Regions from separate parts of the Homo sapiens genome. Here all the other regions are linked to region 1. Evidence: promoter capture Hi-C in human tissues and cell types (Jung and others, 2019). All regions are on one chromosome and are shown on one strand. The core of a region is centred on a gene start or on the middle of the fragment in contact, and the rest is flanking DNA. Distances in the headings are between cores, read along the strand shown.

The links. Contacts are between HindIII fragments. The study calls those that stand out against the background at their distance.
Region 2: a fragment that was not itself captured here is called in contact with the fragment with the promoter of SLC38A1 in region 1 in 1 of the 25 tissues and cell types used here (IMR-90 fibroblasts).
Region 3: a fragment that was not itself captured here is called in contact with the fragment with the promoter of SLC38A1 in region 1 in 1 of the 25 tissues and cell types used here (mesenchymal stem cells).
Region 4: a fragment that was not itself captured here is called in contact with the fragment with the promoter of SLC38A1 in region 1 in 1 of the 25 tissues and cell types used here (lymphoblastoid cells).
Region 5: a fragment that was not itself captured here is called in contact with the fragment with the promoter of SLC38A1 in region 1 in 1 of the 25 tissues and cell types used here (hippocampus).

Annotation. Positions count from the first base shown.
Region 1 is chr12:46,267,360-46,270,292 of GRCh38, forward strand. SLC38A1 (solute carrier family 38 member 1) reads right to left here and starts at 1,684. Exons shown (of 17, transcript NM_030674.4): 1 at 1,167-1,684. LOC105378248 (a long non-coding RNA gene) reads left to right here and starts at 1,712. Exons shown (of 2, transcript XR_001749101.1): 1 at 1,712-1,799. RefSeq lists enhancers at 1-158, 1,084-1,143, 1,142-2,124, 1,264-1,313, 1,364-1,463 and silencers at 1,874-2,053, 2,134-2,233. The HindIII fragment of the contact is 6,474 bases long and covers 1-2,933 here.
Region 2 is chr12:47,091,707-47,094,639 of GRCh38, forward strand. The region is part of intron 1 of PCED1B (PC-esterase domain containing 1B); the gene reads left to right. Among named protein-coding and RNA genes, the nearest start is that of AMIGO2, 13 kb to the left of the region's middle. The HindIII fragment of the contact is 8,493 bases long and covers 1-2,933 here.
Region 3 is chr12:46,885,677-46,888,609 of GRCh38, forward strand. No RefSeq gene overlaps it. Among named protein-coding and RNA genes, the nearest start is that of SLC38A4, 61 kb to the left of the region's middle. The HindIII fragment of the contact is 6,813 bases long and covers 1-2,933 here.
Region 4 is chr12:45,720,844-45,723,776 of GRCh38, forward strand. No RefSeq gene overlaps it. Among named protein-coding and RNA genes, the nearest start is that of LINC00938, 5.6 kb to the right of the region's middle. The HindIII fragment of the contact is 3,962 bases long and covers 1-2,933 here.
Region 5 is chr12:45,745,224-45,748,156 of GRCh38, forward strand. All of the region lies in intron 3 of ARID2 (AT-rich interaction domain 2), which reads left to right. Among named protein-coding and RNA genes, the nearest start is that of ARID2, 17 kb to the left of the region's middle. The HindIII fragment of the contact is 3,797 bases long and covers 1-2,933 here.

The sequences.
Region 1 (2,933 bases), core at 434-2,933:
CGCAGAGCAAGACAAAGGACTCTGAATTGTAGCACCACCTTCCCCAGCCCAAGGCAGCCTGTGAAAGGCACTGGGAGCGGCGTGACGCGGGTACCGCGAAATTCCTTTTGCTGCCATATGCACTTGTGCCTTCTCTAACTACAGTTCAGCACAAACCTCAGGCGGGCGATTTGGCAGGCAAACGGTGCCCAGGCAGCCGGGTAACCTACTGGGTCCCAGTGGGTGCTGGGGAGCCCCATGCGCCAGGAGGTGGATAATTTAGGGGGCAAGGGGCTCGCACAAGGGCGAAGATGCGCTCTCCTCCCGGCACCGACCCACGCGTTTAAAGGCCTCTGCGGCAACGTTTAGGGACGCGAACTAGGTGCCGGGGGTTGGGGAGGAGGTGGGACTGGAAGCGAGAGCAGTCTGCGCCCAAGACCGCGCAAGAGGTGGCCTTTTGTTCGCTGGCTCCAGCACATCCCGGCTCTCGAAAAAACACTACCTCTGTCCCCTGCCACCCTCTGCATTTTAGAAAATCCTCTTCAGGGCAGGAAAGGACAGTGAGTCACTGCAAGCATCCTTTAGTAATTTCTCCCCGCGCCCTCCTACTTCCCCGCGTTACAGAGGGGCAGAGCACCAGGAAGGACGGCAAACATGCCCCGGTTTAGTGGTGGTCCGCGGCCGCTACCCAGCCGGCCGCACGCAGCACCCCCCGGACATCACACGATCTCCTCTGGGCCTTGCGGACACAGGAAATTTTCACCAAAGGCCGGGGATTCAAACACTCCCAGAACACGGTCGCGCCCTCGGGTCAGCTGCGCTCTCCCTCCAGACGTGCGTGGTTCCTGGCTCTCGTAAAAATGGAACCAGATCTGGTACCACACTCTGCCACAGCCACAGGAAAACACACCAAAGTCACAGGAAAACAAACCAAAAAGTAAGCCACAGCCCACGCAAAGGTGAACTCGGGGGCCCTGGCGCTTCCTCCCGCTGCCGCGTGCGTTCGGGAAGCACAGGAGACCTGGACTTTTCCTCTCCTAAAAGCAACATCCGAAAGCATCGGGCACAGCCGAGCTCTCTCTGCTTTCACGCCCGCAGAGATGATTTCTACGTTACCTCCTCCTCCGACATCTAAATCTCCCCTTGCCGCTCGCCCAGCCCTCCCCGGGAACGGATAATCACCTTACCTCCGGAAATAAAGGGAAAGGTGGCAAAAGGCGATGTGGAGGTGTCCGCCCTTCCGGGGTTTTTACCCTCGGCAGTTTGATGTCCTTTGTGTCAAGGTCTGGCTGCGGAGGCCGGGAAAATGTGGCCCCCGTCAGTAAGGGTTGGGCAGGGAGCTTGGCGTGGCCTGGCGGATTTCGGAGGAAGGTGAAGGGCGGAGGCTCCTGGCGACCTTCTGGCGGAGTGGCGTGGCCGCCCCAGTCCGCGCTCGCCTGGCTCTCCTCCTTTCCGGGCCGATTGCATCAGAATCTCCCCTCACCACCAACCCCCACTCACACTCTGCTCGCCGGCCTCGCACTTACATCGACATGCACCGGCGCTGAGGGTCACGAATCGGAGTCATTCTCCTACTGGGGGACGCGTGGCCCTTCCGCAACCATGGCTTGTGATGGTTTAACGCGGACAGGCCATTCCTCCCCGTCCCGCGCGCGGTCTCCTCCCCTCCTGTGCGCCCGCTCTTTAACCAAAGCTGCGTGTCAGTGAGCCGTGCCGGTCACATGGTGTCACTGCTGGCGGCCGCACCTTGCTGCCTCCCTCTTGCAGCTCTCTGACGATGCAGCGACCGCGGCTGGCGGAGATTGAGCAACGGGGAAAGGGTGAGGGAGGGGTTGCGGGGCGCGCGTGTGCCCGGCGCACTGAAGCTGGCACCGGGAGCAGAGGCTGCGCGCCGCCCTGGCACCTGCCCCTCTCCCTCCCGGGGCCCGGCGGCGTGTTCGGAACCCAGCTGCGGCTGCAGCTGGAGAATGAGAGCCCTTAGGGATGGGGGTGGGGCGGCTAAAGGGGCACCGGCGGAGGACAGGAGGGCTGTGCGTTCCGCTGGGGCCTGCATTTTGGGTACGCCAGAGCCCCGCCGGGGCCGAAGGAGCGAGGGAGTTGCATTGTGGGAAGGGCGCAGCATGAGGATGGCCGCGGGAGTGGCAGGTCCGAGCGCAGCCCGGAGAGCCGCGGGCAGCGCCTGGGACTACGGGCAGCGTTGGAGCGGAGGGCTGGCCCTGGGCACAGCCTGCAGATGGCCCGGGTTGGCGGGAAGGGGACCGAAGTGGCAGGGGCGGCGGGGAGCTCGGGCACCTTTAAAAACCCTTTGTCCCTAACCTGAAGCGGGAGGCACCTCCCCTCTTCCGGATCCAGCACCCGCAGACCTGGTCAGCCCTTCCTGAGATCTGCCCTGTGGAGCTCTGCTTTGGGGACTGGGTGTGAGGTGAACCAGAAGGATTTGCTGAGCACCGAGAAAGCACCGGCCTAGGCGCAAAGAGCCGGGGGCCAGCTCTTGGAGGGCCTGGAGACCCCACGTGGTCCCGACCGAAGGACCTGGTGCGTCCAGGTTAACGGAGCTGGGGCGCTCCAAGTCCGGGGGACGAGGGAGCGGCATGGAGGGGAGCAGGGGCAACTGGGCCTGGTTCCCTTTTTTCCCGCTTACTCTTTGTTTCAGACACAGCCCCCTTTCACTGGCTGGGCACTTGCTTGCAGAGGAGTTGTGTCTTAAAATGGCGACAGGAAATCCCACCTGCGCCTCAGCCAATTAGACTGTCATAGCGCGAATTTGCAGGGTGGAAACGCGAGCTTTTTATTGATAGGGAAGGTTCAGTCTCCTGTTCATGGTTCATCAAAACAGGAAAGGGAAGGTGAATCATAATTCAAAAATTAACTACCTGGAGCGTTTCAAGTAGACAGTAGTCATTGTATTTGGGTGAATTTTGCTTTTTCATCACCACTGGAAAAGCAAGATGATA
Region 2 (2,933 bases), core at 434-2,933, 820 kb after region 1:
GACTCTTGTGTGTAATGTGAAATAAACATTAGAATACCTTTTTTTCCACTTGAATGTTGAATTGACACAGCACAATTTATCTGAAAGATTATCCTTTTCCCTACTGCATTGCAGGATCACCTTTATCATAAATCATGCCACCATATATGTGCAGGTCTACTTCTGGATTCCCTGTTGTGTTTCATTGGACAGTTATCTGTTCTTGCACTAGTACCACACAGTTTTGATTGTCATAACTTTATAATAATAGTTTCTGATATCTCACAGTGTAAGTCCTGTATATTTATTCTTCAAGAATAACTTGATGATTTCCAACTTTTACATTTGATATGAATTTTAGGAAAACTTGTCAATTTCTGGAAAAAGAAGAACCTGTAGCTTAGATTTTGACCAAAATTGCATAGATGAATGTATTAATTTGGAGAGAACTAACATCTTTACAATATTGAGTCTTCCAATTATAATGATGCATATACTTCCATTTATTTAGCTCTCCTTTAATTTTTCTCAATAATATTTTAGTTTTCAGTTAGAGATCTTGCACATCTTTAATTAGATTTATTTCTAGGTGTTTGAGTTTTTTGATGCTATTGTAAATATGTTTTATTTTCTATTTGTTTATTGCCAATATATACAAATGCAACTAGTTTTTATATGTTGACTGTATATCCGGTTCCCTTCCTATATTCTCTTATTAATTCTAAGAATTTGTCCTTAGATTCTCTAGAAATTTTGAATGTGCATGATCTTATTGTCTGGAAATGACAATTTTATTTCTTGCTTTCCAATCTCCATGACATTTATTTCTTTCTCTGACCTTTTGCATTGGCTAGACCTCCTTCTACAATGTTAGACTGAAATGATGACAGTGGTCATTCTTGACCCAGTTCCAGTCTTAGGGGGAAGTTTTCAACATACTACCATTGAGAATGATGTTTGCTACGGATATTTTGTAGATATTCTTTATGAGATTAAGAAAGTTCTGTTCTTAATTGATTACGTGTTTTCATCACAAATGGATGTTGAATTTATCAAATGCTTTTTCTGCATTTGAGATGATTGTATGATTTTACTCCTTTTTCTGTTAATGTGGTGAATTATGTTTATGATTTTTGAATGGTAAGCCACACTTGTACACTTGGACTGAACTTGCACTCCATTTACTGTATCAATGGATTTGGCTTCCTAATATTTTGTTAAGAATTTTTAAGTAATGTTTATGAGAAAGATGGGCTTGCAGTTTTCTTTCTCACAATCTTGTCAGGGTTTAAAAATCAAGTTTATGCTATTACAATTTTTTTTAAGTCTGGAAAGCTCACCTTCTCTTTCTGTGTTCTGGAAGAATTATACAAGACAGCTGTTAATTTTTCCTTAAGTGTTTGGAAGAATTCACTGATAAACTATCTGAGCCCAGGCTTTTCTTTTTTAAAATAATGGGCTTAATTTTAAAAAAAAATACATCCTAAATTATTGATATTTTCATCTCTTCTCCTGTCAGTCTTGGTAAATTGTATTTTCAAAGAGTTTGTTTATTTCATCCAAATTGTCAAATTTATCAGCATAAATTTGTTTTAAGTTTCCTTTTATTGTCCTTTTGATGCTTGTATGATCTATAGTGATATCTCCTTTTTCATTGCTGTTGTTGCGAATTTGTTTTGTCTATTTTTTTTTCTTTTGATCAGTCTTCTTTAGATTTTGATGTTTTTAAACAACTGACTTTGGCTTTATTGTCTTTCTTATATGTTCCTTGGTTTTTGCTTTTATCTTTATCATTTCTTTTTGTAAGTTTGATTCCTGCTCTCTCTCTACTTTCTTGAAATTAACACTTAAATCATTGATTTTCAGGCTTTTTCCTTTCTAATATGGAATATAAGACTATATATTTCCTTCTAAGCACCATTTTAGTTTTTTCACATGATTTTTCAAATGTGATTTTTATTATTTAAGTTTAAGAACTAATTTCTGTTTTTTTTCTTTATCCCATGGATTATTTAGAGTATATTGTTTAATTTTGAGCACTTGGGTTTTTCCTGTTGTTGTTATTGATCTTTAGCTTAACTTCCACTGTGGTCAGAGAAGACATTCTGAAAGATGTCAATATTTTGAAATTGTTGAGACTTTTTTCTTGTTATGATATATTGATTGTAATAAATGTTCTTATGTTCTTTGTATACTTGAAGTGAATATGAAGTGGTCATTAGGTACCATTTTGCATACATGACATTAGATTACATATGTTAACTGTGCTGTTTATATCTTCTATATCCTTACTGATTTTTTTATTTTTCACTTTTTCTGCTATGTGTTTGAAAGAGATGCACTAATGCCTCCCACTGTGAGTGCTGATTTGTACATTTTTTTCTCATTGTTCTGTCCATTTTTGTTTAGTTTATTTTGAAGCTATATTATTAGGTGCACAGAGATTTAGGATTGTGCTCATTTCCTATTGGACTTATTTATTTATAATTATGAACTGTCTCACTTTATCTCTAATAATGTTTCTTGCCTTACAGTTCACATTGTCTGATATTAGTATAGCTAGACAGCTTTAGGAGCAGGGGCAGGTTTGTGTTTGCATGGTATATTTGGCTTTCCTTTCACATTAAACATTTCTTTTTATTAGATTTGAAGATTTGGGTTTGTTTTTTATCTAATCTGACAGTATTTTACTTCAAATTTAGCTTATTTACATTCAGTGTAATCACTGACATCATTGGGCTTATAGCTACCATCTTATTTTTCATTTTCTATTGTGCTCTTTTCTTTTATATTCCTTTTGTTGTCATTTTATGTTCTTTTTTTCGCCCTCTCTTTCCTCTATTTTTTTAATTATTCAAGGATTTCATTCTAAAAACTTGCAAGTTTTACTTCTTTAATTCTAATAGTAACTATCCTAGAGATTGCAATATATATCCTTGATTTATTACAGAATT
Region 3 (2,933 bases), core at 129-2,628, 620 kb after region 1:
AAATAATCCTATGGGAAGTAAACTTCTGCTCCTAATGCAATAGTCCTGGGGCAGATACACCACTAATGAGGAGGTCCTACTCTGATGAATGCATATGCGGTGAGACCTGAGCCCTGGACAGGTTGGGGTTGCCGTTGGATCTAGCTTGCTGCTTCAGATGATGCTTTGAGGCTGCCTTATTCCCTGTTCACCTCTCTCTGGACAAAAGGGCAGGAGTGAAGATTTAGCATCAGTCAAGCCTTGTTGCAAGAAGATGCTCTAATCCTACAGTTGTCCCAGCCACAGCCATGTCAAGGGAGACTGTGGATTCTGAGAATATACTACCTTAGAGTTAAAAAGGAGGTTAGGTAGGGGAGATGGTAGCTGCTTGGTCTTCTTTCTAAGTTTTCTTTATTGTTCACTGTTCCCTTTCAGTAGGCCCTTCTTCCTTTTGTAAGGGCCTGGTACAGAGAGCTCAAGTTGATCTGACAGTGTGAGTGGATTGCAATGGTCATGTTTAATACCTCTCAGCTAATGAAGAAGATATACAGATCAACTTGTGCAAAAATTAAAGGAAATAACTAGTGACATTTGTGAAGATATTTTTCTGCTTACAATATTATAGAAGCTGTATAAATGATTCTACTAATTTTTTAGAGTCTATTCCATAAACCAGAAACTATCCAGTAAGCTAGAGATAAGCAGGACTCATAAAGAGCGTACCTTTTTAAACAGGAATGATTAGTTTCACAGAAAGAAAAATAAAAATGTATTTGTTCAATTCATACATTCAACAGACATTTAAAATGATCAACATTTGACTTTTCTGAATGGTCCAAAAGAGAATGTTGAATTGAATAACCCCTTCTGTGTGTTCCCCAGGCTTTGTGGATTTCTACAATGCTGTGAGCAATTGCACATCCCAGTCAAAGCCAAGGAGACAAAACCACTGTGTGGTGAGGGCTAATGATTTGCCATAGGACTTTAGATGTGGTTTTCTGGTCTATCTGGGCTCGATTCCCTCATCTCTAAGAGAGGGTAAACATTTCTCACCAAGGGTTTTGAGAAACAATTGATGAGCTAATTGTACAAAACTTTGCTAAAATACGATGCCACACAAGGGCTCAATAATAAAGGCCACTTTATAGTTACAGAATGTTTTGAAGGTTGATCAGAGAGGGTGTGGATGATGTCAGTTTGGGAGCTAATATTTTCTTTAGATTTTGTTTTCTTTTCTTGTGGTGCTGTGAGGAGGGCTGCACATCTCCAGAGTTAGTCACTTAGGTCTGGGCTTCCTGTGTGTTGGGCATTTTGACAGCAATGGAATGATGGAAATGAATAGTTATTGACTTCAAGGAGCTTAGAGAATGGGGGAGGCAGAAAAATGGGCACTTGCAATTGCCTGCAGCAAATGCTTCCAGAGTGTAGATGTCAGTGCTATGGAATACACAGGAGAACCATAGCAAAGCAGCTAAATCTGAAAGAATCTGTACAGGGAGAAATGGATAGAAGAAAATGGTCCCAGGATTGAAGAGAGATGTTCCCATCTGGCTGAAGTGCAGAGGGCACAAGGAGGAGCAGCAGCTGTAGTGGAAGGCTCATCCATGTTATGGATTTCTACCTAAGCTTTTCCTAAGGGCAGGGGGAAACCATTGAAAAGTTTGAGATAGGAAAGCAACATAATTAGATTTGTGTTTTAAAAGACCACTCTATAAAGGTGTTCTAAAAGCTCATGGTGTTATTTACATTATATTTACACTGAAAAGTCACTATGAATAATTTTGTTAATAAAAGAAAAAACTTGACAAATAGGATTTTGCTCTGTGAAAGTTCATGTGCAGGGGATGAAAAGACAAGCTATGGAGTGTGAGAAAATATTTGCAAACCTCATACCCAACAAAGGATCAGTATGTGGAATATATAATAAACTCTCAAAACTTAACAGTAAAAACAACAAAAAAAATTCAATTAGAAAATGGACAAAAGATGTGAACAGCTATTTCACAGAGGAGGATTATAGATGGCAAATATGCACATGAAAAGATGTTCAATATCTTTATCCGTCAAGGAAACATAAATTAAGCCCACAAGGAGATATCACTACATACCTATCAGAATGGCTAAAAGAGTAACAACACCAAATGCTGGTAAGGACATGGAGAAACTGGATCATCCATACTTTACTGTGGAATGTAAATGGTAGAGCTACTCTGAAAAACAGCTTGGTAGTTTCTTATAAAGCTAAATATGCAACTACATAACACTTAGTAATTGCATTCTTGGATATTTACCCCCAGAGAAATGAAAACATACATTCACACACCAAAAAAAAAAAAAACTGTACAGGAATGTTCACAGCAACATTATTTATAAGCCAAAAATCAAAATAAATCTAGATGCCCTTCAACAGGAATGGTTGAACAAACTGTGGTACATACCACAGAATACTTCTCCACAATAAAAAGGAGCAAACTATTGATGTACACAGCTTGGATCCATCTCTAGGGAATAATGCTGACTGAAAAAGCCAGTCCCAAAAGGTTGCATACTGTATGATTCCATTTATGTGACATTTTTGAAATGACAAAGTTCTTGAAATGAAAAACAGATTAGTTGTTGCCAGGAGTTAGGGATGAAGAAGGTGGGGGCTGTGCAGGAGGGAGGTAGGTATACTTGTAAGTGGACAAACCGAAGGATTCTTGCAGTATTGAAAGTTGACTGGTGGTGGGTATGTGAAACCACAGGTGATAAGCCTGTATAGCACTTAATACACTCACACATATATTCACAAGTATACACACTCACACATACACACATGCAAATGACTATAAGTAGAGCTGGAAAAATCTGATGAAAATAGATGTGCCATGTCAATGTTAATAACATTATTAGACTATAGCTTTGCAAAATCTTCCCATTGGGGGAACTGGGGAAAGTGTACAGGCAATCTTCTT
Region 4 (2,933 bases), core at 129-2,628, 550 kb before region 1:
TTTTAAAAATAGAGAGAAGGTCTTGCTATGTTGCTCAGGCTGGTCTCGAACTCCTGGTCTCAAGGGACGCTCCTGCCTCGGCCTCTCAAAGTGCTGAGATTATAGGCATGAGTGGCCCCACCCTACCTCATGCAGATTCTAATTTAAGATAAAATATCACCTGAGAAGTCCCAGACCCTATATTTGAACTCAGTTTTCCGATTACCCTAAAGAAGGGCCTTTTAGCCTACTCTAATTCTATTTTTATTTTGCTGATTTTCCATCACTTTTACTAATCAATGATTTCTGTTGAAACTTTTATATACTACTCCTTAAATTAGAAACAATTCAGATAAATGTATGGTTTTATGCATATTTGCTTAGCAACTAACTTGATTCTGAAAATTGGATTTTTTTAGCAAGACAGAAAGAATGTTTAGTAGAAAAAGCACTGATTTGGGAGCCAGGAGGCTTAAAGTCTTTATTACACTTTAAGAATGAGCTAAATGTATAACTTAAATCAAGTGCATTGGCTTAATTATTGGAACCTGAGTAAAGCATATGTTTTCTCTCAAATACGCCCTTTCCCTTCAGTTCAGTAGGGAGTGGGCTAAAAAGGAAAATCTGAATGCTAACATATATGTAAAACATGATGGGAAACTACCCTCTCCCACCAAAACAATGCATGGAGTCGTGGGTTTTAAATAACAGTAATTATTCATATGAGACTCTACACCAAAAAGGGCACAGAAGTAATTCATGTATTACTAATACCCATTGAACAACTGGAATATGCACAGATTAGGGCAAAACTAGCATTTTTTTTTTTAAAGGTTATGCTACACTGCAGTCTGAAGTAGTATCCTTAAAGTTCAAATTACACATTGGGCCCACAGATAATACACAAAAACTGATTTGGGATAAATTAGCACAATGTATGATCTCTACAAAAGCAAGTTCTGGGCCAACACCTACATACACTCGCTAGAAACTGCAGCAAATACAGGCAGAGCAAGTAAGCACAAAGGAGAACAGGAAGATGGCAGTGTAACCTGGCTACACCATTGCAAACATTCTGATGAATGCCATCCATGAACACAAGCACACACTACTACTCACAAAACGGTAATACATTCATATACATCCCCAGGCATTCCCAATTAGTGAATAATTATATTTGAAGCCTACTTTAAATTAATATGGGCTGACCATGGTGACTCACGCCTGTAATCCCAGCACTTTAGAAGGCCAAGATGGGCCAATGGCTTGGGCATGCAGATTGCTTGAGCTCAGGAGTTTAAGACCAGCCTGGGCAGCATAGCAAGACCCCTGTCTCTATAAAAAAATACAAAAATTAGCCAGGTGTGGTATGGTGCGTGCACCTGTAGTCCTAGCTATTCAGGAGGTGGAGGTGCGAGTGTTGCTTGAGCCTAGGGTGCAGAGGTTGCGAGCCGAGACTGCGCTACTGCACCCCAGCCTGGGCAACAGAGTGAGACTCCGCCTCAAAAATAAATAAATAAATACATCAACTAATGTAATCCCCCATCCATCCATTTTCAATACATGGCAAACCAAAAAAACAGTTACATGCATTTAATCTAAAATTTTCTGTAAGAATATATTGTATGTAGTTCTTTAGAAATAGATTTTTGCTTATTTGCCATAATTTTTTTAATTTGATGAACTGAAGTGGTATTCCTTAACTACAATTTCAAAATGTTTTTCCCTACAGGCCAACAACCCACAAAATAAAATGCTGCACCTGAAGCAATCCTCCAAACTTACTATCTGTCATTAGCAAATAGAGCTTTAACCTTTTGGGCATCACAGGGTCTTTAAGATGCCCGTGCCTGCTGAGAACTTCTCCCTAGAAAAATGCAGTAAACACATTCCGTTTCATAGGGCTCCTGGACTTGTTGAACACTATACATAGGCCACAAGTAGAATATATTGTCCAGCTGGGAATATACTATTATTTCAAAAGTCTCTTAGGAATTGGCAGCAAGAAGTGTATGTGCAATGGGTACAAATCCACCCAGGGTTTTGTAGTTGTGATATTACTACTATTTTTGGTGGCCTCAACTTTAATGGAGCAGAAAAACAACTGAGGTTAGCAAATAGCAGCGTAAAGGATGGATTCAGCTCACTGGGAAGAAAAAAAATTCCTGCATACCCTAAAGAAACAGAAGCTTCTTTTCAGTTTCCAGAGAACCAGAAGGACCATCATTTATTTAACTTCTGATTAACTTTGAGTATGATAAGTAGGAAATATCTTTAAATGGGGTTAAAATTAATAGACATTAGAAACAGAAACTACACTCTTATTTAAGCTATCAGTAATCATTAATGGCTAAATGTTATGAGTATTGTTAATAAGAGGGAAATTCAGTTATAAAAATATAGCACAATACTCTAAAAATTTCATCTTTGTTTAAAATACTTGGAGGCAGTGTAGTTAAATGCAAAATATTATGTCAGTTATTTTGTACACCTGAAGGACTGTTTATAAATGTTTCTCATACATTATCATGCAAAGATTATTCTAGAATACTTGAGTTCTACATACTACAAATCATGTTAAAGAATCATAGCACCTTTAAAAAATTGTTTACACTGAACTGTTGGATAGAATTTCCCTTAATGTATAGCAATAAGCTTCAACAATTTACAGTGGCTCAGGTTGAATATCTATTTCGATGCTATATATGAAGAGTTTGATATGTTTTCAGAGAAAAGCAAAAGCTAAATAACTTATTATTAAGTCAACACTACTGACTCATGTAGTTATTAAGGAAACTATATATACTTTAATGAAACCTAATTATTACACAATTTTACATTTCAGCTTAATTCCTATTTTATTGTTTTGCCAACAAGACTGCCAACTCCTTAAGCATTACAGCTAGTCAAGAATTAAATCTGCATTAAATACAGAATTAATTTGTCTTTGGGGT
Region 5 (2,933 bases), core at 243-2,742, 520 kb before region 1:
GAAGTGTGTAGTTAGCTATAATTGGATATGGCTACTGAATTTATTTATTGATTTGTAGTATCGTCAGTCTTAATACTAGAAAGGATTTTAAGAAGATGGTCTAGCCCTCTGCTTTCTGGAAGGGTAGAAATAAGGATACTTTTCCAGGTAGGCCTGCGTGGGGATAATTGACTTGCCTAAGATTATTACTACTGAATGATGGAAGGGAAAAGTAGAAACCAAATCAGATCTGCATTTATTACACTAACCACTCCATTCTGTTTTAAAAGGAATAATTTTAGAAGACTATCAGAGATTTCTTTGCTATATAAAACGGGGCCTTTATTTATTATTATTATTTTTGAGACAAAGTCTCACTATGTCACCCAGGCTAGAATGCAGTGGCGCAATCTCGGCTCACTGCAACCTCCACCTCCTGGGTTCAAGTGATTCTCATGTTTCAGTCTCCTGAGTAGGTGGGACTACAGGCACACAACAACATGCCTGGCTAATTTTTTTGTACGTTTAGTAGAGACAGGGTTTCGTCATTTGGCCAGGCTGTTCTCGAACTCCTGGCCTCAAGTGATCTGCCCGCCTTGGCCTCCCAAAGTGCTGGGATTACAGGCATGAGCCACTGCGCCTGGCCTGGTTTTATGTTAAGATGATTCTGCTGACTTATACTAAGAGAGAAAAAACACTTTTTACTGCAAATATTCTTTATATTAAATATTTTACTCGTAAAAACCTAAACTTACATATTTGATAAAGCTTATATATTTGATAGTTGTTTTTTTTTTTAAATAACCAAGGATACTCATTTAAAGGTTAGTCTAGTACATAATTTTTTAGATGGAGACCTCTACTGGAAGTATGAAGTAATAGATAGATTCTGGTTTGATTTTTTTTTTTTTTTCCTTTGGAGACAGGATCTTGCTCTGCCACCCAGGCTGGAGAATGAAGAGTAGTGGTGCAATCATGGTTCACTGCAGCCTCAACCTTCTTGGCTTAAGAGATCCTCCTACTTCAGCCTCCCTAGTAACTAGGACTACAGGTGTGTGCCACCATACCTGGCTGATGTGTAAAGATTTTGTAGAGACCAGGGCTTTCTGTGTTGCCCAGGATGGTTTCCAACTCCTGGCCTCAAGTGATCCTCCTGGCTTGGCCTCCCAAAGTGTTGGGATTGCAGACCTGAGCCACCCACCCAGCCTGATTCTATTACTGTAAATATCTAGACAAAGGGATGGTAGGGAGATATGTTTTAAAAACAGTCAATGTAACATATGCTAAAGTTTTTTTTTTAAGTATTTTTCTTATGAAACTTTAATAGTATACTTTTGGTTTATGATACCATGTTGAATCTTTTAAAAAGCAGACTATTAAGTTTATATTTTTTTAGCTAACATTTATTTAATTTGCCATGTGCCGGGCACTGCACCAAGTGGTAACTCATTTTCTCTTCACACCTCCCTATGACATAGATACTGTTAATATCCTGGTATTATAGATGAGAAAACAGGACAAAGGTGTTTAAGAACCTTGCCCAGGTTCACACAGTAAGTTCTGGATCTAGTATTTTTTTTTTGAGACGGAGTCTCGCTCTGTCACCCAGGCTGGAGTGCAGTGGCGCGATCGAGGCTCACTGCAAGCTCCGCCTTCCGGGTTCACGCCATTCTCCTGCCTCAGCCTCCCGAGTAGCTGGGACTACAGGCGCTCGCCACCATGCCCAGCTAATTTTTCTTTGTATTTTAGGTAGAGATGGGGTTTCACCGTGTTAGCCAGGATGTTCTCGAACTCCTGACCTTGTGATCCGCCCGCCTCAGCCTCCCAAAGTGTTGGGATTACAGGCGTGAGCCACCGTGCCCGGCTGGACCTAGTATTTAAACCTGGAATCTAGGCATATTATACTGTCTTCCCCCAATTCACATGAATATAATTTTATTAAAAAGTATTTGAAGATAAGGACTTCAAGGGAATAAAAATATGAAAATGGTTAGGGTAGTTGTGGGATTGTGGCTTTTTATTTTTATTTAAAAAATTCTTTAATGTATCTTTTTGTAATAACGTGTGTGTTGCTGTACAGTTTATAGTTTATTTTTACAAATATTTATCTCAGTGGATTTTTGCAACAACTCTAGGAAATAGGTATTATCCTCTTGTAGATCAGGGAAAAAGCCTGTAAGTACCATTGCTAGTGCAGAATTAGAGTTTAGTTTTGTGAGTTATAGTGTACTGCTCCTAGTTTACTATCAGAGTCTTGGGGTCAAGGATTTTTTTTTTTTAATGGCAATGCACTTTTTGGCATCTGATACATTGTAGCTGAACTGAATTAGGATCTCCTGTCACTTGGGGAGCTTCTTATGAACTCAGGTGGGTATGGTAGGCCTCTCAGCAAGTGGGAAATCTAATTTGGGAAATTCTGAAAGAATTGAAAATTTCTAACTTACAGAATTAATAGTATAGCATTTCATTCGTCTGTCCCTAAAGCTTAACATTTTTTTGTGTGGTTTTATTAAACAAGCATCAAGAGTCAGTTGTAGTTGTAGAATATTAATTAACATTGTGGTAAATGTGTCATTTTGTGCAATTCTATGCAGTACTTGAAGTTGTTTTTAAGTAAAATAGACACTAATGTCTCCCTATCTGTCTTCACAAGCTACAATATGAGACTAGAGAGTCTTGTGTAGGGTAAGATTTGAGAGAGTAATACAGACATGCCTGAGAGATGCTGTGGGTTTGATTCCAGACCACCACATTAATATATATGATAGTAAAATGAGAGTGAATTTTTTGGTTTCCCAGTGCACAGACAAGTTATGTTTATATTATACTGTAGTATATTAATTGTTCAGTAGCATTATGTCTCAAATAACAATGTACGGCCAGGTGTGGTGGCTCAACGCCTGTAGGCCCAGCACTTTGTGAGGCTGAGGCAGGAGGATTGCTTGAGGCCAGGA